Linked DNA regions of Homo sapiens: regions 2, 3, 4, 5 and 6 are each linked to region 1. The links are contacts of gene promoters, found by promoter capture Hi-C in blood cells and fetal thymus (Javierre and others, 2016). All regions are on one chromosome and are shown on one strand. Each heading gives the region's core, a stretch centred on a gene start or on the middle of the fragment in contact. The rest is flanking DNA. Distances are from core to core; before and after follow the strand shown. Region 1 overlaps LOC124904557 (a long non-coding RNA gene). Region 2 holds the start of SPATA21 (spermatogenesis associated 21). Region 3 holds the start of ATP13A2 (ATPase cation transporting 13A2). Region 4 holds the start of PADI2 (peptidyl arginine deiminase 2). Region 5 holds the start of PADI3 (peptidyl arginine deiminase 3). Region 6 holds the start of ARHGEF10L (Rho guanine nucleotide exchange factor 10 like).

What was found. Contacts are between HindIII fragments. The CHiCAGO score rates a contact against its expected background, and 5 or more counts as called.
Region 2: a contact is called between the fragment with the promoter of SPATA21 here and a fragment that was not itself captured in region 1, in 9 of 17 cell types (naive B cells, non-activated CD4 T cells, naive CD4 T cells and 6 more). The highest score is 13.0, in naive B cells.
Region 3: a contact is called between the fragment with the promoter of ATP13A2 here and a fragment that was not itself captured in region 1, in 5 of 17 cell types (M0 macrophages, erythroblasts, naive CD4 T cells and 2 more). The highest score is 13.7, in M0 macrophages.
Region 4: a contact is called between the fragment with the promoter of PADI2 here and a fragment that was not itself captured in region 1, in 3 of 17 cell types (fetal thymus, total CD4 T cells and total CD8 T cells). The highest score is 23.0, in fetal thymus.
Region 5: the fragment with the promoter of PADI3 here is called in contact with a fragment that was not itself captured in region 1 in 4 of 17 cell types (fetal thymus, erythroblasts, M1 macrophages and 1 more); the score reaches 25.6 in fetal thymus.
Region 6: the fragment with the promoter of ARHGEF10L here is called in contact with a fragment that was not itself captured in region 1 in 1 of 17 cell types (neutrophils); the score reaches 9.5 in neutrophils.

Annotation. Positions count from the first base shown.
Region 1 is chr1:234,781,299-234,785,234 of GRCh38, forward strand. All of the region lies in intron 1 of LOC124904557 (a long non-coding RNA gene), which reads right to left. Among named protein-coding and RNA genes, the nearest start is that of LINC02961, 23 kb to the left of the region's middle. The HindIII fragment of the contact is 5,487 bases long and covers 1-3,936 here.
Region 2 is chr1:16,435,354-16,439,289 of GRCh38, forward strand. It overlaps SPATA21 (spermatogenesis associated 21), which reads right to left and starts at 2,071. Exons shown (of 13, transcript NM_198546.1): 1 at 1,775-2,071. RefSeq lists a silencer at 2,801-2,971. The HindIII fragment of the contact is 2,188 bases long and covers 1,735-3,922 here.
Region 3 is chr1:17,009,852-17,013,787 of GRCh38, forward strand. It overlaps ATP13A2 (ATPase cation transporting 13A2), which reads right to left and starts at 2,077. Exons shown (of 29, transcript NM_022089.4): 1 at 1,878-2,077. The coding sequence starts at 1,887. RefSeq lists enhancers at 329-408, 1,172-1,221 and a silencer at 1,712-2,241. The HindIII fragment of the contact is 3,526 bases long and covers 611-3,936 here.
Region 4 is chr1:17,117,711-17,121,646 of GRCh38, forward strand. It overlaps PADI2 (peptidyl arginine deiminase 2), which reads right to left and starts at 1,741. Exons shown (of 16, transcript NM_007365.3): 1 at 1,570-1,741. The coding sequence starts at 1,661. RefSeq lists a silencer at 1,551-1,760 and an enhancer at 2,332-2,866. The HindIII fragment of the contact is 8,283 bases long and covers 1-3,936 here.
Region 5 is chr1:17,247,117-17,251,052 of GRCh38, forward strand. PADI3 (peptidyl arginine deiminase 3) reads left to right here and starts at 1,982. Exons shown (of 16, transcript NM_016233.2): 1 at 1,982-2,113. The coding sequence starts at 2,022. The HindIII fragment of the contact is 2,587 bases long and covers 1-2,246 here.
Region 6 is chr1:17,537,741-17,541,676 of GRCh38, forward strand. ARHGEF10L (Rho guanine nucleotide exchange factor 10 like) reads left to right here and starts at 1,958. Exons shown (of 29, transcript NM_018125.4): 1 at 1,958-2,210. The HindIII fragment of the contact is 7,990 bases long and covers 463-3,936 here.

The DNA of each region.
Region 1 (3,936 bases), core at 489-2,988:
CCACCTTGAGGGAAGGAGGAGAGAAGGTGAAGGGTGCTTTCACCTATTTACAATCCTGAATTCCTGGACTCTGGGCTGGTGTTTGTATTTTCCAGCTAGCCCAAGATGACATGTTCACTTATGACCATTTGGTCTCTAAAAATGAACTCCCATCTGGAATCCAAGACCGTGGCTGGCCTGAACTCTGGACCCACATCACACTTCCAAGAAGGAAGCTAGAGTGGCCCCTAGGGAACAGCCTGTGTCAGGACAGTCACTTTAAACACCCCTGCTCTCTACATTTAGAGCCTGGAAAAACTTAGTCGAAACCTAAAATGAACTGAACCTTGGCCCGTGGATGTTTCCAAGTAAATTGAAACCCTCATCCACACCATTAGCCCAGTGCTTCTGCAACCTAGTGATGCTTACCCACTGTGACTCCTCGCGTCAGTATACCCCGGGATGTGTGGAGGCGTTTAAAGGGCTGATGACTTAGAGCTGGTGGTGACATTTTGGAACCTATGGTGCCAGCCACCATTAGGGAAATCCTACACTGATTCATTGGCTCTTCTAGGTAAGGGTTTCAAGAAGCAAGGTCTTCTTGGTAGGAATCTAAGAGAAGAGGCATCCTGGTTGTGTTGGACAGAACATGGTCTTTGCAGCCAGACAAATCTTGATTTAGTACGGACTCCAGAATGTCTGTGTAGACAGGATTTGGGGCAGCAATAATCTCAATGAAAGGGAGATGACAGGGAAGCACATATTGAAGCTACATTTTTGCCTCCTGTAGGCTCTTCCGACTTAGATTGTGTGTTTATTTGGGATAATTGTGGAGAAGGGGGCTGCTACAGATGATGGTTACAACGAAAGCCTCCCAAACCACCCCTTGATAATGACACTGTCTGGATTCAAATCAGCATCTACCACTTACCGTCTATGTGACCTTGGGCGAGTAACTTAGCATCTCCGAGCTACTGTTTTCTTATTTGTAAAATGAGAAGAATAATTCCACTCTGGCAGGGCTTTTGTGGGGGATTACATTGGATAACATATGGGAAAGGGCTTAGCACAATGCAGGCATATAATAGGCTCTCAACATATGGAAGTCTCTTTCCTTCTTTCCATCGCTGGTCCCCAGATGTCTCAGGATCCTAATGAAGTATCCAGATGAGGACTGAGATCTAGAAAGTTCTTTTTTTTTAAGTTAGATATTTGTGGGGGTTTGCTTTTGGATTTTGTTGCCCACCGTTAAGTGTATTTCAAGGGGACACTACATCTGCCCTGCACATTGTAAGTCCAGAATACCATGCAGCTGGCCTACTTGAAAGGGAGCCTTCACAGGCTGAACTACACAGGCAGCACCAGTCCTGAGGATGAAAAAGCCACCATAGCAAATGAATTAGGTCAGCGGCTTTCCTAAAGTCTAGAGGCAGCAGAATCTTCCTACAGTGGGATTTTTTAATGGTTTTTTTCTCCTGGTTTTTGTAGTGTGTGTGTGTGTGTTTCCTTTCTCACTGAACTCCTGGAGGCTGGACAAGACACAGGATGATAGAATAGAAGGAAAAAGAAGGAGACATTATAAGTACATGCCCCAGTACCAAGTTCTTTGCAAGGAATCTCTGGAGACGACTGGTGGAACTCATGGGGTTGGCAGAAAACTACTGACTTTGCATGGCCAACACTCATTGGTTCATTCATGCATTCAGGAAGCATTTGCTGAGGGAGGCTGACAGCTCCCTGGGAGATGTTAATACATGACATAGCCCCAGTCCCTACATTCTAATGAGTTGTTCCAAATAACAAGTGTTGGGACTCAGAAAACAATACCCCAAAAGGAAGGCTTAGCCTCAGAAGCAAAAGTTTTTCTCTGATCTTCTCCTGCCCTCCTATCTCTTGCCCCTCATTCTCCCCGAGGCCAGCCATAGAAACCAGAATCCCTCTTCCCCAAGGCGGATATAAAAACCAGAACCCCTTTTCCCCAAAGCCAGCCATAAAACCTAAAATACAACTCTAGCTTTCCTTCCACCTTTCTGTGTAAAAACTGGCCATAAAGACCTCATCTAACCTATCTTATTTGACTGTAGGTCATAAGACCCCCACTCCAGAAAGGATCCTGTCCCATACCCAGAAGGAAGGAATGCGGCATGGATGCCTGGAAGAATCTAGGCAGACAGGCCTTGCTGCGCTTTCTACTCAGTCTAGTCTAGCATTCCATCAGACCCTTTTTGTCCAGTCATATTTCTATGTGACTATCCATACTGTCTTGAACCTAAGTGTAAAAGTGGACAATTTCCCCTCTATCTTTGGGTCTTCATTCTGAAGGCTCCTGTGTATACACATTAAATAAATGTGTATGCCTTTTTTCCTATTAATCAATCTTCTTCATGTCAGTGATTTTCCAGTGAACCTTTGGGAAGAAATGCTGGCTCAATTAGAAATAGAAATTTGCAAGCCAGGTGCGGTGGCTCACGCCTGGAATCCTAGCACTTTGGGAAGCCAAGGTCAGGATCACCTGAAGTCAGGAGTTTGAGACCAGCCTGGCCAACATGGTGAAACCCTGTCTCTACCAAATATACAAAATTAGCCAGGCTTGGTGTTGCCTGCCTGTAGTCCCCACTACTCAGGAGACTGAGACAGGAGAATCGCTTGAACCCGGGAGGCAGAGGTTGCAGTGAGCCAAGATCACACCACTGCACTCCAGCCTGGGTGACAAGACCAAAACTCCATCAAAAAAAAAAAAAAAGCAAGGAAAGAAAGAAAGAAAAAAGAAGGGAAGGAAGGAAAGAAGGAAGGAAGGAAGGAAGAAAGAAAAGAAAAGAAAAGAAAAGAAAAGAAAAGAAAAGAAAAAAGAAAAGAAAAGAAAGAAAAGAAAAGAAAAGAAAAAAATAAATTTGCAAAAAGATCCGCTATTAGACCTAGGCCAGTGGATCATGAAGCCACACACACCACACTTTGTTTCCTTGCAGGGATCCAGTCCCTCCCCTGAGAATGCAGGCTCCTGACTTCTGGTCTCCCACACCCTCGGTGCTATGCAGTGTCAGCCCAGTATCTGGCTCACAGCAGTCCTAGTGAGCATCTCTTGGGGAGTCCCCTTTACCACCTGTGTATTACAGCTTCCCAAGGATTAGGAGTAAGGGGAAGAAGCCATTTAAACAAAATTGCTTTTGAAGCACAGATGGGTTCACAATACAGAAAAAATGGTGCTTAGCAAGAAATGTTTAGGATTTGGCAGATTCTGAAGTTCATTTCACATTGTTTGATGCTTTAAACCAGCTGCTTCTCCCATTCCCTAAACATCAGCTCCCAAGAGAGCAAGTCAGCCTAGGACTCTCCAGGCAATGATATTTCCTTGGATAATATGCAACCTTTTCTGGAAGGTCTGTTCCATCAGCACTCAGCTCAGCACCCATCCAGAGCATCTCACTTCCCTTCTCACCATGGTTTCCCTAACAATGGATTCCACACGCACATACGGCTATAGAGGGTCAGTTCAACTGAGCGTGTTTCCCAGCAATTGACACAATAGATTCCTCTCTGGGGAGCGAAGGAGTCTACTTACCTGGGATTCCCCTTGTCTCTACTGAGCCACTGGGGGCCATGGTACAAGCAGCCAATCCTAAGGACCCTCCTGCTCTCCTCTTGTTGTCCAGCTTGTTTTCTTAGTATGCGCACTACTTGATTTATGGTGCCTGGAGAACCTCAAGCCAACAAGATGCTTGCTCCTGACTTCTCTGATTCCAGGGTTCCTTACTTCCTAGTCTCCACCCCTGGTTCATAAGCAGCTTGAAGGAAGACACAACCAAGACCCTACCTTTGCAACAGCTGTGAAATGGGATCAGAGAATTCCGGTAAAAGTTTGTCAAGCTAAGTGGGATGTATCCAAGGCTTCGTAAGAAAGGAGGCTGGATCTAGCTCCAGAGCCACTTCTGGAGGCTTGGATAAGAATGGGAAAAGTAA
Region 2 (3,936 bases), core at 821-3,320, about 220 Mb before region 1:
TCACCCAGGGTGGAGTGCAGTGGCCTAGTTCCAGCTCACTGCAACCTCCGTCTCCCGTGTCCATGCAATTCTCCTGCTTCAGCCTCCCTAGTAGCTGGGATTACAGGTGTGTGCCACCACACCAGACTAATTTTTGTATTTTTAGTAGAGACGCGGTTTTGCCATCTTGACCAGGCTGGTCTCAAACCCCTGACCTCAGGTGATCTGCCCACCTCAGCCTTCCAAAGTACTGGGATTACAGGTGTGAGCCACCATGCCCGGCCCCCCCCTTTTTTTTTTTTCAGACAGGGTCTTACTCTGTCCACAGGCTGGACTGCAGTGGCATGAACGTGGCTCACTATAGCCTTGACCTCTTGGGCTCAGGTGATCCTCCCATTTCAGCCTCCCAAAATGCTGGGATTACATGCATGAGTCACAGCACCCAGCCTGCCTCTGTCCATTTATACTGGGTTGTCTTTTTATTATTGCACGGTAAATGTTCTTTATAAATTCTAGATACATGTCCTGAATCATATATATGATCTGCAAAAATTTTCTCCCATTATGTGGATTACATTTTCACCTTTTTGTCTTTTGAAGCACAGAAGTTTTAAATTTTTGTAAAAGTCCCATTTATCGGCCTGGTGCGGTGGCTCACACCTGTAATCCCAGCACTCTGGGAGGCTGAGGCGGGCGGATCATGAGGTCAGGAGTTTGAGACCAGCCTGGCCAGCAAGGTGAAACCCCATCTCTACTAAAGATACAAAAAATTAGCTGAGTGTGGTGGTGCGTGCCTGTAATCCCAGCACTTTGGGAGGCCGAGGCGGGCAGATCACCTGAGGTTGGGAGTTTGAGACCAGCCTGACCAACATGGAGAAACCCCGTCTCTACTAAAAGTACAGAATTAGCCGGGCATGGTGGCACATGCCTGTAATCCCAGCTAGTCAGGAGGCTGAGGCAGGAGAATTGCTTGAACCTGGCAGGTGGAGGGTTGCAGTGAGCCGAGATCGCACCATTGCACTCCAGCCTAGATGACAGGGTGAGACTCTGTCTCAAAAAAAAAAAAAAAAAATACAGATAGGGTGCAGTGTATACTGCTCAGGTGATGGGTGGACCAAAATCTTACAAATCACCACTAAAGAACCTACTCATGCAGGGCAAGGTGGCTCACGCCTGTAATCCCAGAACTTTGGGATGCCAAGGGGGGCAGATCACTCGAGGTCAGGAGTTTGAGATCACCCTGGCTAACATGGTGAAATCCTGTTTCTACTAAAAATACAAAAATTAGCTGGGCATGGTGGTGCCTGCCTGTAATCCTAGGTACTTGGGAGGCTGAGGCAGGAGAATCGCTTGAACCTGGGAGATGGAGGTTGCAGTGAGCAGAGACTGCACCACTACACGCCAGCCTGGGCAACAGAGCAAGACTCCGTCTCAAAAAAAATTACTAATGTAAACAAAAAAAAAACACCAAAAAACAAAAACCTTAGTCATGTAGCCAAATACCACCTGTACCCCAATAACCTATGGAAAAACAAATAAATAAATAAATAAATAAAAAGTTTTGAAATCAGGAAGTGTGAGTCCTCCAACTTTGTTCTTTTTCAAAATTCTTTGGGTATTGAGTGCCCCTTTTATAAGTGGTTTCCTCATCTGAAAAATGGGAGAATTTCTCTTGGAAATATCTATGATGGCAGGAAAATACAGCAGATAAAGATAAGTGGCATATCATATATATGTCTGGAGGCCGTCAGGGAAAGCTTGTTCACCTTACACCCCACCTTGGCCCTGCACCTACCAGAAATCAGCTGGATGAGTCACAGTGAGATTTTCCACCCCTGCTCACCGCCTTGCACATAGGATGGGCTCTGTCTGAGCCTATACTTTGCCTGTTGGCTTGAATTGGATTTGTTTGGTATACAGGGCAGTTAAACTGGGAATAGATGGCAGGTCCAATTATTCTCAGCAGCAGAGGTTTAGGAATGCATTTCAGGAATATCCAGCCATGTGGTTAGGGTTTGAGAATAAGGCAAGGGGCTGTGTGACCTCCAACTACTGGACAGTGTCATTTCCCCCAGCTTGTCACTGGTTCAGTGGCCCCCATTACACAATGAAGATAACAATCGTTGCCTTGCCAACCTCACAGTGATTATTGGGCCAGGGTACTCTCTCCCAGAAAGCCTTCCCTGACTCTCCCCAGACTGTGTGGGGTTTCTTCTCTTTGCTCCCACAGGCCCCTGTGAATTTGCTTCATTACAGTACCTTTCATTCTGCTTTGCCAATGACTGCTTTTCTCTCTGTCTCCTCCAGTCTGCGAGCTCCAGGATGGTAGGAGCTGGATTGGCCACATCCCAGTGACCCCAGTACTCAGCACCTGGCATAGGGTATGTGCTCGATGCCTGTCTTTGTTAGACTGAACAGAACTGAAAGTGCTCTGAATGGCTGGGTGCGGTGGCTCACACCTGTAATCCCAGCACTTTGGGAGGCCGAGGTGGGTGGATCACTTGAGGTCGAGTTATAGACCAGCCTGGCCAACATGGTGAAACCCCGTCTCTACTAAAAATACAAAAATTAGCCAGGCATGGTGGCGCATGCCTGTAATCCCAGCTACTTAGGAGGCTGAGGCACGAGAATCACTTGAACCTGGGAGGCAGAAGTTGCAGTGAGCTGAGATCATGCCACTGTCTTCCAGCCTGGGTGGTAGAGTGAGACTTAGTCTCAAAAAAAAAAAAATTGGAAAATAAGGCCAGGTATGGTGGCTCATGCCTATAATCCTAGCACTTTGGAAGGCTGAGGCAGGAGGATCTCTTGAAGACAGGAATTCAAGACCAGCCTGGGCAACATAGCAAGACCCCCGTCTCTACAAAAAGTAAGAAAAATAGCAGGGTAGGGTGGTGTGTGCCTGTAGGCCCAGCTACTCAAAAGGTTGAGGCAGGAGGATCCCTTGAGCCCGGGAATTTGAGGCTGCAGTGAGTGATGATCGCACCATTGCACTCCAGTGTGGGGTGACAGAGAGAGAAAGAAAGAGAGAGACCCTGTCTAAAAAAAAAAAAAAAAAGAAAAGAAAAAGAAAAGAAAAGAAAAGAAAAATAACCAATATTTGCAAAAATGTGAAGAAATTGAAACCCTTGTGAACGTAAATGGTGCTGCTGCTGTGGAAGACAGTTTGGAGGCTCCTCAAAAAGGTGAGCAAGGCCGGACATGGTGGTTCACACCTGTAGTCCCAGCTACTTGGGAGGCTGAGTTGGGAGGATCACTTGAGCCTGGGAGGTTGAGGCTGCAGTGAGCCATGATCATGCCAGTGCTTTCCAGCCTGGGCAACAGAGTGAGATGCTGTTTCAAACAAAACAAAACAAAACAAAACCACTAAACATAGCATTATTGTATAACTCAGCAGTTTCACTCCTATGTATACACTCAAGAAAATGGAAAACAGGACTAGAACAAGTGTTTGAACACCAATGCTCATAGTAGCCCGATTCCCAATACCAAAAGGTGATAACATCCCAATTGTTGACAGATGAATGGATAAACAAAATATGGTATATACATGCAATGGAATATTATCCCTCCATTAAAAGGAATGAAATTCTGATCCATGCTACATGAAAGAACCTTGAAAACTTGATGCTAAGTGAAATAAGAAACACAAAAGCCCAATATTGTATGATTCCACTTATAAGAGGTATCTAGAAAAGGCAAATTCATAGAGACAGAAAGTAAAACAGAGGTTACTAAGGGATGGAGCAGAAGGAAATGGGAAGTTATTGCTAATGGGTGTGGAGTTTCTGTTTGGGATGATGAAAAGTTCTGGAAAGCATGATATAGTTGCACAATATTGTGAATGTACTTAATTTCACAGCATTGTACACTTAAAATGGTAAATTTTATGTTATGTATATTTTACAATAAAAATGTAAGTGGTTAGATCAATCCTATAATAAAAAGCTTATAAAAAAT
Region 3 (3,936 bases), core at 827-3,326, about 220 Mb before region 1:
AGTGGAACTTGAGGGAGGAAGTCACAGCTGTGGAAACCTCCAGAGCCCCTCCCTGCAGGGATCAAGCCCAGGGCACTCTCTCCTGCAGTACATCTGTTTATCCCCAGCCACAGCCCAGTCTCCCCAGGGCTTCTGTGGGCTCAGACCAGCCCAGAACAGGCACCCACAGGCTGTGTGGGGGGGCGAGAGCACCTTCATGATGGCATTGCTCTTTTTTTTGAGATGGAGTCTTCCCCCCCCGTTCCCCCCTTCCCCCCTGCCCGTCTCCCAGGCTGGAGTGCAGTGGAGAGATCTCAGCTCACTGCACCCTCCACCTCCCAGGTTCAAGCAATTCTCCTGCCTCAGTTCCTGAAGTAGCTGAGACTACAGGCACATGCCACCACACTCAGCTAATTTTTGTATTTTTAGTAGAGACGGGGTTTCCCCATGTTGGCCAGACTGGTCTTGAACTCCTGACCTCAAGTAATCCGCCTGCCTCAGGCTCCCAAAGTGCTGGGATTACAGGCGTGAGCCACCACGCCTGGCCTGTCATTGCTCTTCTGATGAACAGCAGCTCCCATGGAGTGCTCACCATGCCCTGCGGAAGCCCTTCAGTGTGCTAACTCAATGAAGCTTCACACACAACCCTCTGGGGTAGTGACTATTATTATCCCCATTGTACACCTGGGGAAACTGAGGAACAGCATGTGAATCCCTTGTCCAGGGTCATAGAGCTTGAAAGGGGAGAAGCTGGAAATGAGTGTGTCTGAATGGGCACATTCTTTCCCACAGCCATTCCATGAAAAGTACAGATTAGGATTCCCATTTAAAACGAGGCCCAGAGGAGTAGATTGACAAGCACAAAGTCACACAGCTATGAGGGGCCAAGACTGGACTTGAACCTCGTCTGAGGTCACAGCTCGGGGCAGTGTCACCAGCACTGTGGATCAGAGGGGCTAGAGCCATTTGGGACCTCTTATTTCCTGCGGAAGCCTTGGCTTCCTGCTGGTGACCTGGCAGCGGCCCAGGGCGGCTGCCTCCTCCCTGGCTGTGGTTCCCGGCGGCGGGGAGCTCCTGTCTTCTGCCAGGCTGAGGCGGGAGTGTGTGTGAACCATCTTCCCATCTTTGGATCTGGATTCTAGGGGCTGTCTTTCCTCATTCCTTCCCCTCCCTCGCCGGGGGGTGCACTCTAGGCTGTGGGGCTGGGGGCTGAGTGACAGACACTGAGATGAGACCTTTCTGGATAGGGGAGGAGGACTGGCCCCATTCCCGGCAGGTGGGATTTAAATTAGACCCTGGAGGAGTGGGCGTAGGACATCTGGCCAGGGATGGGTTGCATGGAGGGTGTGGCCCTTGGCCCTGGGTGTGACGGGTTTTCTCTGGGGTCTGAGGCAGGAGGTCAGGAGTGGCGCTGTGGCCCAGGACATCTACCCAGGAAATGGAGTCCCGACTCCCCCAACGCCATTCATTCATTCATTCAGCCCAGAGGGGTTGCCCAGAGGCCCGAGGATGCAGCCGTCTCCCCCACCTGGACATCCGTCACTCGGGGTGGGATCCGATTAAGTGGGCGTGGGGTGGCCTCCCCGTCCCCGCACGGCCCCAGGACCCTCTTGCACAAGCGCCCGGCTTCCAATCCCGCGGCTGAGGGGTGCAGGGGAGGGGAGGGACCGGCTGCGAGCGGCGGCGCCATCCCCAGCCCCGGCGTCTCTGGGAAGAAACCGGGGCCGAGTCCCCGTCAAAAGGGAGGGGACGGGCCAGGATCCCCAACCAGGTCCCGCTTCCTGGGCTCGCGACCCCGCGGTGGGGGGCGTCGCCTCCCCTCTCCCTCCAAGGGGTGACGACAACTGGCGGGCCGGGGACCGCGCCGGGCTCGGGGCCGACCCGGACTCCGCACTCACCTGCGCTCATGCCGGCTCCTCGCGCTCATCGCCGGCCCCGGCGCTGCGGCCCTCGGCCTGGGCCCCGGCGTGCGCAAGGCCCTGGGCGGGGGCGCGGTCCGGACGGCCCGGGGCGAGGGGCGCTGGGCTAGCGCGGGGCTGGAGCAGGGCTGACGCGGGCGGGGCACCTGGGCCACCAGGCTCGGCGCGGCTCCGACACTGCCGCAGTCCCTCCGTGCGCGCCGCAAGCCCCGCCCGGCCCTCTGCGGCCCTCGCAGCGCCCGCGCCGGGGCTGCCGGGACTTGTAGTCCCCGCCTGCTCCTCCGCACACACCGGGGGCGGGGCGACCGGAGACACACACCTCACGGAGGTAGCCCCCGCCAGCACGTCCCAGTGGTTAGGGACTGTGCGTGCTGGTCCAGCTCTCCATGTCTTCCAGGCCGCGCGACCGTGAGCAAGTCACTGATCCTCTCTGGCCCTCTTTTCCCAACCTGTAGGATAGCAATGCCTGCTTCACAGAGAACTGCTGCGAGGATCACACAAGAAAATGCTTGTCAACTGGGCGTGGTGGCGCATGCCTGTAATCCCAGCTACTCGGAGACTAAGCCAGGAGAATCGCTTGAACCCAGGAGGCGGAGGTTGCTGTGAGCCGGGATCATGCCATTGCACTCCAGCATGGGCAAAAAGAGCGAAACTCTGTCTCAAAAAAAAAAAAAAAAGAAAATGCGTATCAAGCACTTGAGACAGTGCCTGGCGCTGCTTGATGAATGCAAAGAAGGAAGACACACCTGCCCAGAGATTCACAGGGTCAGATGTGGGCCCACAGAGACCCAGGGAGAGTCTGCCATGATGCACTGGAGGCCTTGAAATGCCAGAGAAAGAGAAGCCTCACAGCGTGACCTGCAGACACACCTGCACTGGGGGGATTCATGAAGACCCCTGAAAGGCACCAGAGATGTCTTACCTGCGTGCAGCATTTATCCTGCTACCCCATAGTGACCGGCACAGGCATAGTGTTCCCTGTCTCCAGGACCTCTGGACAGAGGAGCTCCAAAGGGGAGAGTGGATCTGTGAGATCCTAGGGCAAACAAGGGAAGGTTCACGTTAGGGCCAAGGATAGACGTGGGCAGGATCACTGGTCATTTGTCCAGTATGAATTTATGGAGTGCCAGCACCACTGTGGGAGCCAGGAACGTGAGAGTGAACAAAACAGAGATGCCCCTGTCCCTGCGGAGACTGCTGTCTACTGGGAAGTAGCCCTAGTCAAGGAAAGGAAAACTCCAACGATCCCTATTGTGGAAGGGGCTGGAAGGAGACACAGCTGTGATGGTGGTGAGGGTGTGGGTAGGGGATAGACCCCAGGAGGGAAAGCAGCACCTGATTCATAGCAAGATCCCAGTGAACATTTGGTACAGGAACACACGTTGGCAGGACTTGCTGGTGGATAGGATGTGGGGGTGCAGGAATGTGTGGAATTCAAGATGCTCCCCAGGGTTTTGGCCTGAGCAGCTGGGTGCCAGTGGAGCCATTTACTCAGCTGGGGCAGGCTGCCCGAGCCAACCAGTTGCGGGTCATTCCTGTTGACCACCTGGGCCATGGGACTGGCTTCCTTGGGTCAGGTGACAAGAGTTCTTTCATCTTCCGGTGACACTTCCAGGGGAGGCAGGCTGCTTAACTTTTCAGAACTCCCATGTCCTCCCCCAGGGCTTAGCTCAATTTCTGGCAGGAACCCAGCCTCCAGGGCAGCAGGAAGGCTGGGTTTGGAAATGGCTAGCCCAGGTGGCCTTGGCAAGAGGCAGTATGGTACAGTGGCAAGGGGCTGGGTTCTGGCATCAGAAAGACATGGATGCATGAGTTGCTTTCTAGCTGTGTGAGCTTTAAAATGTCACTTTCCTTCTCTAAGGCTCTCCTTCCCCTCACCTACAAAATGGAAGGCATGGAGAGGATGAAATGAGATGGCAGGAACTTGGTAGAAGCCAGCTGCTTGCTTTAGATCCTGGCACTGGATTAGCGGCTTCATAAAAGCAGAGGTACTCCAGTCTGGGTGAAAGACTGAGACTCCCTCTAAAATAAATAAATA
Region 4 (3,936 bases), core at 491-2,990, about 220 Mb before region 1:
GGAGGATCATGCCAGCTTTTCAGGCGGCACCAACCATGCCCCAGCAAATAAACAGGTGGGTATGGTGACAGCTGAGGCTTAGAGACCTGAGCACTCTGGCTCCGCGCCCACTCCCTAGCGGTGCCCAGTTCAGGGCTGGGGGTGGGGAAGGCAGGGGAGCTCTTGCACCCCACCAGAGCCTGGACCACCCTCCACTGCTGTGTTCTTGTTCTCAGAGACCACCCAGTCCACCTCTGAGGTTTACATGGGGGACAACTGAAGCCCAGGCCCAGGGGAAGGCAGAGGTTGAGGCCAGGGACAGAGGCATGGAGTGGGTCCCTAGTCCTGGGGCTTGTTGGTATCAGCGTGGCCAGTGCCTCTGCAGCGGTGGCAGGAGACTGGTTGGGCAGGTGGGAGGGCTGCCAGGGCTGTGTGGGGAGACACATGATGGGTTGGTGGGGGCCTGGGAGAGGCAGGGTGCTCCAGGTGTCAGGATGATTTGAGAGCCATAAACCACGATGGTGCCTCCGTGTGAGTTCAGCTTGAGGCAGAGAGGATAGGGGACTCATCCGGTGTCAGCACAGGGTCCCACCTCAGAGTCCTGCATGCTCCCTGCCCCCAGCACTGACCCCTCCAACCCTAGCAATGGGGAGGTTTTAAATGCTTGGAATAGAGGGGGCAGATCAAACCCCAGCATAACCCCACCCTTTCATTCACACCAGCCACACCTTTCCAAGGCCCCGTCCCATTACTCAGGGAGACAGATCATTGGACTTGGCTGCTTTCTGGGATTGCGGGGGGAGTGGTAGGGCCCTACCCTACCTTCAGCTGTCTCGGACATCCCGCACTCTACCAAGTTCTTGGACAGAGAGAAGGGGAGGGAGCAGAACTCTGAATCAGGATCCTTTTCCAACAAAGTACCCCGCTATACACCCCAAGTCCCCGTCGTCAGCTGGGTAGAATATTGTCCCTCTGTGGTCTCAGAATGAAGTCAGGGGAAGGTATCTGGGGACACGGAGCTCAGGGCCAGTGCCTGGGGACAAGCAACCACCAGCAGCCCCCACAGGGCGAAATCGGAGCCTGAGTAACCTCCAGGGCCGGATTCAGCCTCAGGGCAGCTCCCTTCGGGTCCTGCCCCAGTCCCCGGCAAGTCTCCGCGGAAGCTCCGCTGAACTGGGAGTGGGAAGCAGGAGAGGGGCTGGGTTGAGGTGGGTCCGAGGGGAAGTGAGGTGCGGAGGGGAAGTGAAAGGGGAGAGGACGGCAGGGAAGCTGAAGGGGTGTGAGGTCCCCCGGGAGGAGAACTGGAGAGGGCCAGACGGAGGGTTACGGGTGAAAGGGAGGGTCTGTGAGGGAGCTGGGGCTGAGGCTGTGTTAGGGGGTCTGGGAGAGTCTCAGGGTTTCTGGAAGGTGGACACAAGGTTCGGGGGTTGTCAGGTTTCTGGATGAGATTCTTAGGATTTCTGGGCTCGGGGGCTCGGGATGAGGGACAACTCGGGCTGGACAAAGGCTGTCCACGTCCCCGAGTCTGAGCGCGTCTCAGGATTTCTGGGCTCGAGATCTCGGCCCGGGCATCACGGTGGGCCGGCTCACCTGTAGACATCGGTCCAGAGGTAGGTGCCCAGCACGTACACCGCCTCCACGCGGCTCCCGTACTGCAGCCGCACGGTCCGCTCGCGCAGCATCCTCCCCGCCGCAGTGCCCGCGCTCGCTGGTCCGGGGCGGCCGGGAGCACCTGCAGCAGGTGCGCCTTCTCCAGCAGCCTGCGCCCCACGGCCCCGCGCGCAGCCTTATCCAGCGGCCGGTGGGCGGGGCGGCCCGCCCCAGTCCTCTCGCAGTGGGCTGCGGGCCTGTCCGTCAAGCGTGGTCCCGCCCCTAACTCGTCCCGCCCCGCTGAGGTCGTGGCGAAGTCATCAGGGACCAGTTTTGTGCTTTCCATGGTTGGATTGTCATTCTTTCATTCGACAAACCTTCGGTGGGCGCCCAGGTGTTGGAGGGCCCTAGCTCCCCTCCGGACGCCCCAGCCCAGTGGGGCTGAAAATGCAAATGTGGGAACACAAAGAGGGTGCCCTAACCCAGCCTGGGGGCCAGGAAGCCTTCCCAGAGAAGACGATCCTGGAACCTTCTTAAAGGAGGCGTTTGCAAATTAAAGGCGAGGAGAGGGAGCTGCCTGTGCAAAGCCGGGTGCAGCCCGGTACCCCCATCCCCCAACAGTCAGATGAACCTCACCATAGAGAAAACGGGAAGCGGTGGGGATGGGGAACCCGGCAGCTGAGGGAGACCAGGACGCCAAGCCAAGGCATTGGAGGGTGGGAGATGGGAGCCTGGAGTGGTTGTCTCCGCGAGCCGTGGTCGGGTGTGCTCGTGAAATGGGTCATTCTGGGCTGGGGAGGGGCAAGGAAGCCCCTGGCTGTGGCCAGAGCTGGAGAGGTGGGGACTGACCCGGCCACTGCTTAGGGACTGGGATTTTGGTGGCACCTGGTGACTGATAGGATGTGTGGGTGGAGGGAGAGGAGAGGGGTAAGGATTAGGGCCCCGGTTCTGGCCTGGGCCACCAAGGGAAGGGGGGTGCCACCCAGAGGTCATCGTGTGTCTCACAGAGGCTGAGATGTAGGATGACAATCAGTGTGGGCCTCGGCCAGCCCCTCCCATGTCCCAGCCCTTCCCCTGGGACCCAGTGGGAGTGCTGTTCAGACACATACATCAGCCCTGTGTGAGGAAGTGGTCTTTGGTAGGTGAGGACAGAAACTGAGGGGGGGTGGGCAGAGGCCGTGGGAGGGAAGGAGTGGGGCGGAGGGGATGTGTGTTTGGGAAGGAGTTAGAGCTGATGGAAGATGGAGCTCCAGGAACGGGTGCCCCCAGACAAGAGGGGTGAGGCCCACAAGTGCCCAGTGCTGATATACCCAGCCCTTGGACTCCAACCTTCTCCCTGAGGCGGCCCAAATTAGGAGGTGGTGAAGAGCCCAGCTGCTTCTGAGTGGCAGGGATTTGGGAGGAATGTGAGTGGGGAAGAGGGAAGGCCCGAGTTTTAGCCAGGAGGTCATTTGTCCCCCAAAGGCACAGCTCACAGACCCAGGGAGAGGCCAGTAACTGTTTTTTTTTTTTTTTTTTGAGACAGAGTTTTCCTCTTGTTACCCAGGCTGGAGTACAATGGCGCCATCTCAGCTCATTGCAACCTCCGCCTCCCAGGTTTAATTGATTCTCCTGCCTCAGCCTCCCAAGTAGCTGGGATTACAGGCAGGCACCACCACACCCAGCTAATTTTGTATTTTTAGTAGAGACGGGGTTTCTCCATGTTGGCCAGGCTGGTTTTGAACTCCTGATCTCAGGTGATCTACCTGCCTCGGCCTCCCAAAGTGCTAGGATTACAGGCGTGAGCCACAGCGCCCGGCCGAGGCCAGTAACTTCTGATGAACTCCAGGCACCCGGCTGAGCACATCCTCCAATCAGGAGGAATCTCTCGGGTGGCCACCTGCCAAACTGGGACAAAACTTGTGTAGCTTGGAGAGACTTCGAGGCGCCCCCAGAGGTGAGCTCGTGTCTGGGCACCCCTCTGCCACGAGTGACTTTGGAGCCCTTACTGTGTGACAGATAACGGGCACCCACCAGGGTTCTCACCTTCCTGGGGCTCTAACTTTCATTTGACTCATGGGGAGACTGGGGCCAGAGTGGGGGAGGACACTGTACCCCCCACTGACGGAGACCCCGGGCAGCTCATAACAGGACACTGGGCAAGATAGTGATAACATCAGACCGCAATACCCAGGGGAGCTGGAGTAAGAGCGGGCACTTACTGCTTTCTTTCTGTGGGTCAGGCACTGTTCCAAGCGGCTCTTTTCATGTATTAGAGTTAGATCACTGAACCCTCCCAGTAACTCCGCCACTTTACAGATGAAGAAAGTGAGCTGTGAGGAGGTGGGGGAATTGACTCTGGGTTGCAGAGCTCCTAAGAGTGGCAGA
Region 5 (3,936 bases), core at 732-3,231, about 220 Mb before region 1:
GTGCTCACAAGAAGGCTAGGGAGACTAAGGCTTCCTCCTGAGCTCGAACTCTTACCCAGGGCTCCCAAGGCTGACTCAGCCATCAAGCCATTCCACAGCTGAAAAAAGTGAAGCTGTCCCTTGACCCAGAAGCCCAGCAGTTCTCCTTGAAAAGAACATCTTTCCCAAAAACTGAGACATGGGAATGACAATCTCAGGGTCCTGTTGAGGCCCTTGAACTGGTGCAGATGTCCCAGCTGGAGATGCTGGGGAGCGGGTCCTGGTCCCCATCCTGTCTCAGGCTGTCAGCACTGCCAGGGAGAAGGGAGGAAACCTCTATTCAGCACCTCCTGAGCCTCCGCCAGGCAGGGTGCGTCTTCACTATTATCTCCGCCAGGGCCAGTGATTAGCTGCATTTTCTACAGATGAGGAAACCGAGTCTCCAAGAGGGGGGACACTGACACCCAAGGCCCTATAGTGGGTGCACGGTGGAGCCTGCCTCTGAACCCAAGACTTCTCTCCCCAGAGCCCTTGCTCCTGCTCTTCCAGGAGCCTGAATGCCCCTCTGACTTCGGTTTCCCACCTGACGACTGAGCTTTCCTACTCTGACATGCCAAGCTCCCCCTGGCTGGAGAGAGTTCTCACCCTCATCATTTACCGCTTTCAGAGGTTTTTGGGACCTAATAACAGCAACAATAGTAATACAATAACGCCAAGCTCCATACCAGAGCTCTACCAACGCTGGCCCCTGAGGCCTCACAGCAACCATTTTTCAGACGAGAAAAGTGAGGCACGAACAATTAAGAAAGTTGCCCGGCCGGGCATGGTGGCTCACGCCTGTAATCCCAGTACTTTGGGAGGCCAAGTCGGGTGGATCAAGAGGTCAGGAGATCGAGACCATCCTGACTAACACGGTGAAACCCCGCCTCTATTAAAAATACAAAAAATTAGCCGGGAGCCGTGGCAGGCGCCTGTAGTCCCAGCTACTCGGGAGGCTGAGGCAGGAGAATGGCGTGAACCCGGGAAGTGGAGCTTGCAGTGAGCCGAGATCACGCCACTGCACTCTAGCCTGGGTGACAGAGCGAAACTCTGTCTCAAAAAAAAAAAAAAAAAGAAACTTGCCCAAGGTCGCCCATCCAGGAAGCAGCTGAGGCAGGGCTGAAACCCAGGTCTGGCTCTAAAATCCATTAAAAAAAAAAAGTTGGTGTTTCTCAAAGGGCACCAAAATGCTTTGGGGGTGCTTATTAAAAAATCCAGAGGGCCGGGTGCTGTGGCTCATGCCTGTAATCCCAGCACTTTGGGAGGCCGAGGTAGGTGGATCACCTGAGGTCTGGAGTTCAAGACCAGCCTGACCAACATGGAAAAACCCCGTCTCTACTAAAAATACAAAATTAGCCGGAAGTGGTGGCACACGCCTATAATCCCAGCTACTCGGGAGGCTGAGGCAGGAGAATTGCTTGAACCTGGGAGGCGAAGGTTGCGGTGAGCCGAGATCGCACCATTGCATTCCAGCCTGGGCAACAAGAGTGAAACTCCGTCTCAAAAAAAAAAAAAAAAATCCAGAGGCCAGGCTGCACCCCTAACCTGCTGGATCAGAGTGGACAACAGACCTGGGAATCCGCATTTTCACCAGCTTCCCCAGCAGAGTAAGAAAGCTCCCCATTATAGTCTCTGAAAATGCAGAAAATGGAGGTGAGGAAGCAAGAAGCGTCCGAGATCAATATCATATATCTCTGCACCCCCTCAACAGCACCTGCCCCCAACAGTTCCTGGTGCCTAGCCAGGTACCTGTGGGGACTTGCTTCCCAAGAAATTAACTTCCTGGGTGCCGGGGTCGGGACAACAGGTTCGTATACAAATACTGGGTCCCTTCCAGCCAATCCTGAGCTCTCAGCTCTGGGAAGGGGCTGGGCTTTCATGACTGGAGCCAATGAATTGGCACCCTGGGCTGGAGGGGTGGGGCCAGGGGCTTTTAAACCTCATCCTAAGGGGCCTCAGGGGCAGTGTTGGGGTTGGCGGCCACAGCTAAGTCCAACACCAGCATGTCGCTGCAGAGAATCGTGCGTGTGTCCCTGGAGCATCCCACCAGCGCGGTGTGTGTGGCTGGCGTGGAGACCCTCGTGGACATTTATGGGTAAGAGTCAGAGGCCTAGTGGTTTGCAGGCCCTTGGTGCTGATGCCCTTGGACCTTCCTCCCTGCAGGCTGGGCAGGGCTTCTTCAGGGCCCACTCCCCAGCCTTGGCCTCGGAACAGCAGCCAATCAGGGAAGCTTGGGTCCTCCTCTTGCTCTACTGAGTTTCCTGAAGACCTTAGCCAGGGAATTTGAAGTTTGGGAGGCTGAGCCAGGTAGAAGAGGCTTCAGTGACTGAGCTCCAGACCGGGGGCTTGGAGGGGGCTGGTGCCGCGAAGAGATGGCACTTTTCTATGTCCAAGGGATGCTGCAGGTTGGGCTGAGGATCTGTCTGGGGCACACAAGAATAGGAACAGGCAGATATCCCCAGCCCCATCCTGAGCCTATGAGCCTAGAAACAGAGCATGAATCATTTTTAAAAAATAAGTTAATACATAGCACTTACCATGTGCCAGGCACTATTCTAAGAGCTTCACAAGTCTCTTGAGTTAAGTTTTGAACTTTAATCTTGAATTTAACCCTTACAACAACCCTGTGAGCTAGGCTTATTATTAGCATCATCTCATCAGACAAATGAGAAAACCGAGGCAGAGAGGGCAAGCCATTTGCTCAAGTCACACAGTTACTAAGTGGCAAAGCCAGGGTTTAAACCCGCTTGTGGTCTTACTCAGGAGTCTTATGGTTTTAGCTGCTCTGATACTTGGAAAATAAAGATTTCCAACCTGGTTTCCTCTAGACACTCAATGCCCATGCATTATGCTCCTACTGTGTGCCAGGTCATGCCTTTGAGGCCCATGGTAGAGGGAGGTAAGGCCTTATCTTCTCTCTCTTAGGAAGAAAAGAGGGTTAGGGTAGGGTTTTAAGAGCTGGGCTCTGGGGACCACCAGGGAGCTGGCTTCTTAGGCTTTTGGGGAGAATCCAGGGTCCTGGCTTGGAGGTAATCAGGATACTGGGAGGGGAGGGTGCAGAACTGTGGGACAGCTCTCACCTCTCAAGTCTCCCAGCCCTCTCCTCAGGCCAGGTTTCTCAACCTCAGCACTGCTGTCACGATACCTCTTTGTCATGGGGGCCACCCTGTGCACTGTAGGATGGAGAGCAGCATTCTGGGCCTCTCTTTGCTAGATACCAGCAGCACACTCCCGAGTTGTGACAACCAAAAATGTCCCCAGACATTGCCAAATGTGCCCTGGGGTGGGAAGAAAATAGCCCACCCATTGAGAACGAGTCTCCAAGACTAAGACTCGAAAAATCAGGGCGAACTTAGTCGGGAGCAGCGATGGGGTTGATCCAGGGCATTGGATGAGAGGGGGTGAGGAGCTGGTCATGGGAGGGAACCAAGTCGGGAGCAGAGCCAGCCCAGGAAATAAATCCTGGTATTGGTGGGTGGGCAGTAGGAGGAGGAAGGGGATTCAGTGGTTCTTGAAGGAAGGGGCAGCCACGGAGGCTGTGCCAAGGAGGTAATGAGGAAGGAGGGGTATCTGCCACTTGGCACCACTGCCTGCCTGCCATGGGGTGACTGGGCTGCGTGCCATGGGGTGACTCACCTGCCCCTGCTGCCTCGTGCCCGTTGGGCAGATGTGTCTCCGGTTTGACCTGTCCCAGGAAGCCTGGGCCTGGCTCCTCCCCCGCAGAGCTTCCTTAGAGGATAGAGGATGGATTGGGGCAATAAGAGATAAAGGCCATAGCTTCCTGGAGTCACCTGAGCCACACTGGAGGTTTGCAGAGAAGGCCATCGGTGGGACAGCCACAGGGTGGGGGATGGAAGCTCTGATACCTTCAAATGAGGGATTCTTGGGCCCTGGTGGCCAAACCCCCCAGGGGTGGGA
Region 6 (3,936 bases), core at 708-3,207, about 220 Mb before region 1:
GCACGGTGATTCACACCTGTAATCCCAGCACTTTGGGAGGCCAAGATGGGATGATCTCTTGAGCCCAGGAGTTCAAGACCAGCCTGGACAACATAGTAAGACCACCATCTCTACAAAAAAAAAAAAAAAAAAAAGAAAGAAAAGAAAAAAAAAATGAGCCAGGCATGGCTACCTGGCAATATAGGCACTACAGGCACCACCATGCCCGCACCTGTAGTGCCAGCTACTTGCAGGCTGAGGCAGGAGGATTGCTTGAGCCTAGGAGTTTGAGGTTACGGTGAGCTGATTGTGCCAGCCTGAGCCACAGGGCAAGACCCAGTCTCTTAAAAAAAAACAAAGAAAGAAAAAAAACATAGCCAAGGAAGGGGTTGGAGTACACTGTGAAAGACCGCGATGCTGGTCTGGGATGTGTACTTGGCTCTGGCTATGACGGCAGGACTCAAAAGTCCATTTCTGGTCCAAAGCTTAATGCCATGAGCCTGAGGTCACTCAATGGACATCTGAAGTCTTCTTCCTGCTTTGCTAGCATCCCCAAACCTCTCCTGTCTGCTGTCCTGCCATCATTTATTCACAGCAGGGCAGGGGCCGTGCCTGTTGTGTTCACTGGTGTCTCCTGCGTGCCTAGAACGATGTCTGGAACAGAGCAAAAATGCTCAAAGAATATCTCCTGCCTACTTAAACTATGAGCCAGTGTTGCCCTAGCCTGGGGCTCAGGACAACTCTGTGGTGCTTATGTTCTTGTGTCGAGAGGGACAATAAACAAACCAACAAGTCGGTGAATAAGATGATTTCAGTGCGTGGCCTGTGTGGCTTGTCTCACTGCACTGTAGCCGTTTGTTTATTTGCGTCTTCTCCTAAGCCTATGAGCTCCGAGGGGGCGGGGCTGGGGTCTGTCTGGTTCTTTGTCTCACTGGTAGCCCCTGAGGCTGGTGCCTGACAAATAGGGAGTAGTTAAAAAAAAAAAAAAAAAAAAGTTTTTGCTGGCTGTGGGCTGTAAGGAACACAAGCTGAAAATGATTTCAACCTACGTGCACCTGTACCCTTTGGAGGCTGCAGAACTTATCATTATCAACCCAGGAGTAATTGCTGATAAGCCCGCGTGTGAATTTCCTTGCAAATAGAGGGGTAGCGGGGGAGTGTTTAACAACAACGCGGATAATCTTAATTAATGACCTGATAACTGTAATTAATTGCATCATATCCAGAGGCCCTCTTTGGAATTTCAGGAGGGAGTACCTAGTGTTTGGCAGCTTTGGAGCTGCAAAGGCAGGGGAATGCTAGGATCTCAGTCTCAGCACTTTGCTGCTCAGTGAGCTTTGCCAAGTTACTCTCAGTTCTGAGCCTCAGTTTTCTCCTAGGGAAAATGGGGCTACATCACTGGGGTGTTGCCGGTCTCAAAGCCGTCAATGCCTGAACCCGCCAGGGTTGTTCTTGGAGGTTTGGCTGCATGGCTGCAAGGTTCCCCATGTTGCCATGGCGGGGGTGGGGGGCAATACGGGGCCGCCAAGACTGGTTGAGGGGCAGGTCATAAGTCTAGGGTTTCCCCTGGGGCCGGTCCAGGATTCTCACCCTTTTGGGGGAACCTCAGGGCAAAATGTTGAAGTGGGGGAGGAGAAGCCAGCACCCTGCGCGCCTGCGGGGTCTCCCCGCGGAGAACCGGGGAAGGAGAACCGGGAGGCGGGAAGTGGGGACCCCGGGGTAGGTGAAGGAGCGAGGAGGTCGCCGTGTGGCCGGGGCCGGGCCCCATCCCCGCGGGCCTCAGTTTCCCCCCTGTACTGTGGGGGGCCGGTGGGCTGCCGGGACCGCTGGGGGCTCGCAGCGGGTCGGGGGAGGCCACGTCTCCCTCGCGGCGCGCTGGGAGCAGGGAGGGGGCGCGGCGGCCGCTGCCCCGGCCACCAGGGGTTAAGCGGTGACCTCAGCCGCGGCGCCCCGGGACCGGGCGGGCGGGGGCGGCGCCGCGTCGCGCACGGCGGCGGCGGCGGGACCAGGCCTCGGAGCGCGGCGGGCGCGGGCGCAGTCCCGGCGGGCCCGGACCTCGCGGGCGGGCGGGCGGCGCGGCCATTGGCTCGGGTGGCGGCGGCTGCGGCGGTGGGGGCGCCGTCCCGGCCATGGGCGCCCGCGGCGGCCTGCGGAGCTGGAGGCGCGGCGCCGGCCGCCAGGCGCCTTTGTGAGCGGCGCGGACGACAAAGGCGCGGGCCCGGGCAGCCGAGGTGGGTGAGTGAGCGCGGGGGCCCTGCCTCCGCGGGATCCTCGCGTGTGCCGGAGTCTGCGAGTGCGCGGGAGGCGCTCCAGGCGCCAGGGTCCTCCGGGTGTCCTGGGCGTGTCGCCGTGGGCGGGCGGGGGCCGTGTCCGCCGCTGTGTCCCTGTGTCTGGGTGTGAGAGCCCCGAGCCCGCGTCTCCCCTCTGTGTGGGTCTCTCCTTGTGTCACTGGAGTTCTGGTGTTACTAGGGCGAGTGGCCTTTGTGCTTCAGCTTGTGTGTGTGTGTGGCCTCCAGCCGGCTGGAGTCAGGACAGTTTGGGAACCCCCACCCCCACCCTGTGCCTCACTTTCCCCTGTGGTCCACTTCTTCCTGCGCTGACCTTGGGGGTCCCTGGGATCGGGTGAAGTCAGGGAGTGCCCCTGTCGCCTCTGTGGTGAGTCAGCCTCTCCCACCCTGGACCCCCGCCCAGAGGCGGAACGGGACGGCCTCCTGCAGGAGGAGACTGTGGGAGGAGAGGATGCCGGGTCAGCCGGAGGCCGTGGCTGCGGAGCCGCCAGTCCCGGATCCTCCCTGGAACAGGGATATATGTCAGGGAGGGCCCTAGATGAAGACCAGCCCCCCTGGAGTCGCTGGGATGGCCTCCGAGAGGGAGAGCAGGCCTGACTGTAGGGGGCATGGGGACAATTCTTCCTCCCTCTGCCAAAGCGGGGCCCTGGGGCGGGGGTCTCGAATCTTCCTTTGGCCCTGAAAGCCAGGAGGCCCTGCGTTGCATCAGTGCCAAGTAGAGAGGTGGTGGCTGGTGGGCTGCACTTTCCCACTGGCTTTGGAGCTCAGTTTCTGCCCCAGAGTCCTTGGCCTCCCTTAAGGATGCTACTGGGAAGCCACGCCCCACCTGCCGGGAGCCCCATCTGCTCCTCCTCGGGTTCTGGGGAGAGAGGGCAGGTTGTGCGGGCTCATTAGAATGCATAGCTCTTCCCAGCATCCGCCCAGCACTGTGCCCCCCACGGTGTTCAGGCCCTGGACACACAGACTAGAAAGCAGGTCAGCCTCCGGAAATCTCCAAGCTCCCTGTGACTGTGGGCTGGGGACTGCCCTTCCCCTTCATCGGGCCCTCAGGCTGAAGCTCAGAACCCTCCTGTAAGGAAGGCTTCCTGGGGTGCCCGAATCTGATGCTCGCTCTGTCCCCAGGCGCTTGCCTTCCTGAGGCCCCCTGTCCCTTCCCCTTCCACCAAAGAGCCTCTGTGGGCTGTTCTCTCTATCCAGGAAGTGGGTCCCATCCTTCACCTCTTTCATTTCTCACTCGGGAGCTACTTCCTCTCCAGTGAGCCAGGGTAGCCACAGTGCTCTGAGGGTTCCTGCCCCAGTTGTGGGGGCGGGGGGCTTTTTTCAGTCTTCCAGTGGAACAGGGGCCATGTCTGTCCTTGATCACAGCTCAGAACAGTGCCTGGTGCATAGTGGGTGCTCTACACATAGTTGCTGAATAAATGAATGTCCAATAACTAATGGTTCCCAAATTCTGTTTCAAGTTTTAACTCTGGAGTAGTCTGGGGAGGGGCGAAAGCTGGTGTACTGCTCTGGGGCCCAGGTACCAGGTTAGTATAAGAGGAGGTTGGGTGTGGTGGCTCACCCTTGTAATCCCAGCACTTTGGGAGGCCAAGTTGGGTGGATCACTTGAGGTCAGGAGTTCGGGATCAGCTTGGCCAACATGGTGAAACCCTGTCTTTACTAAAAATGC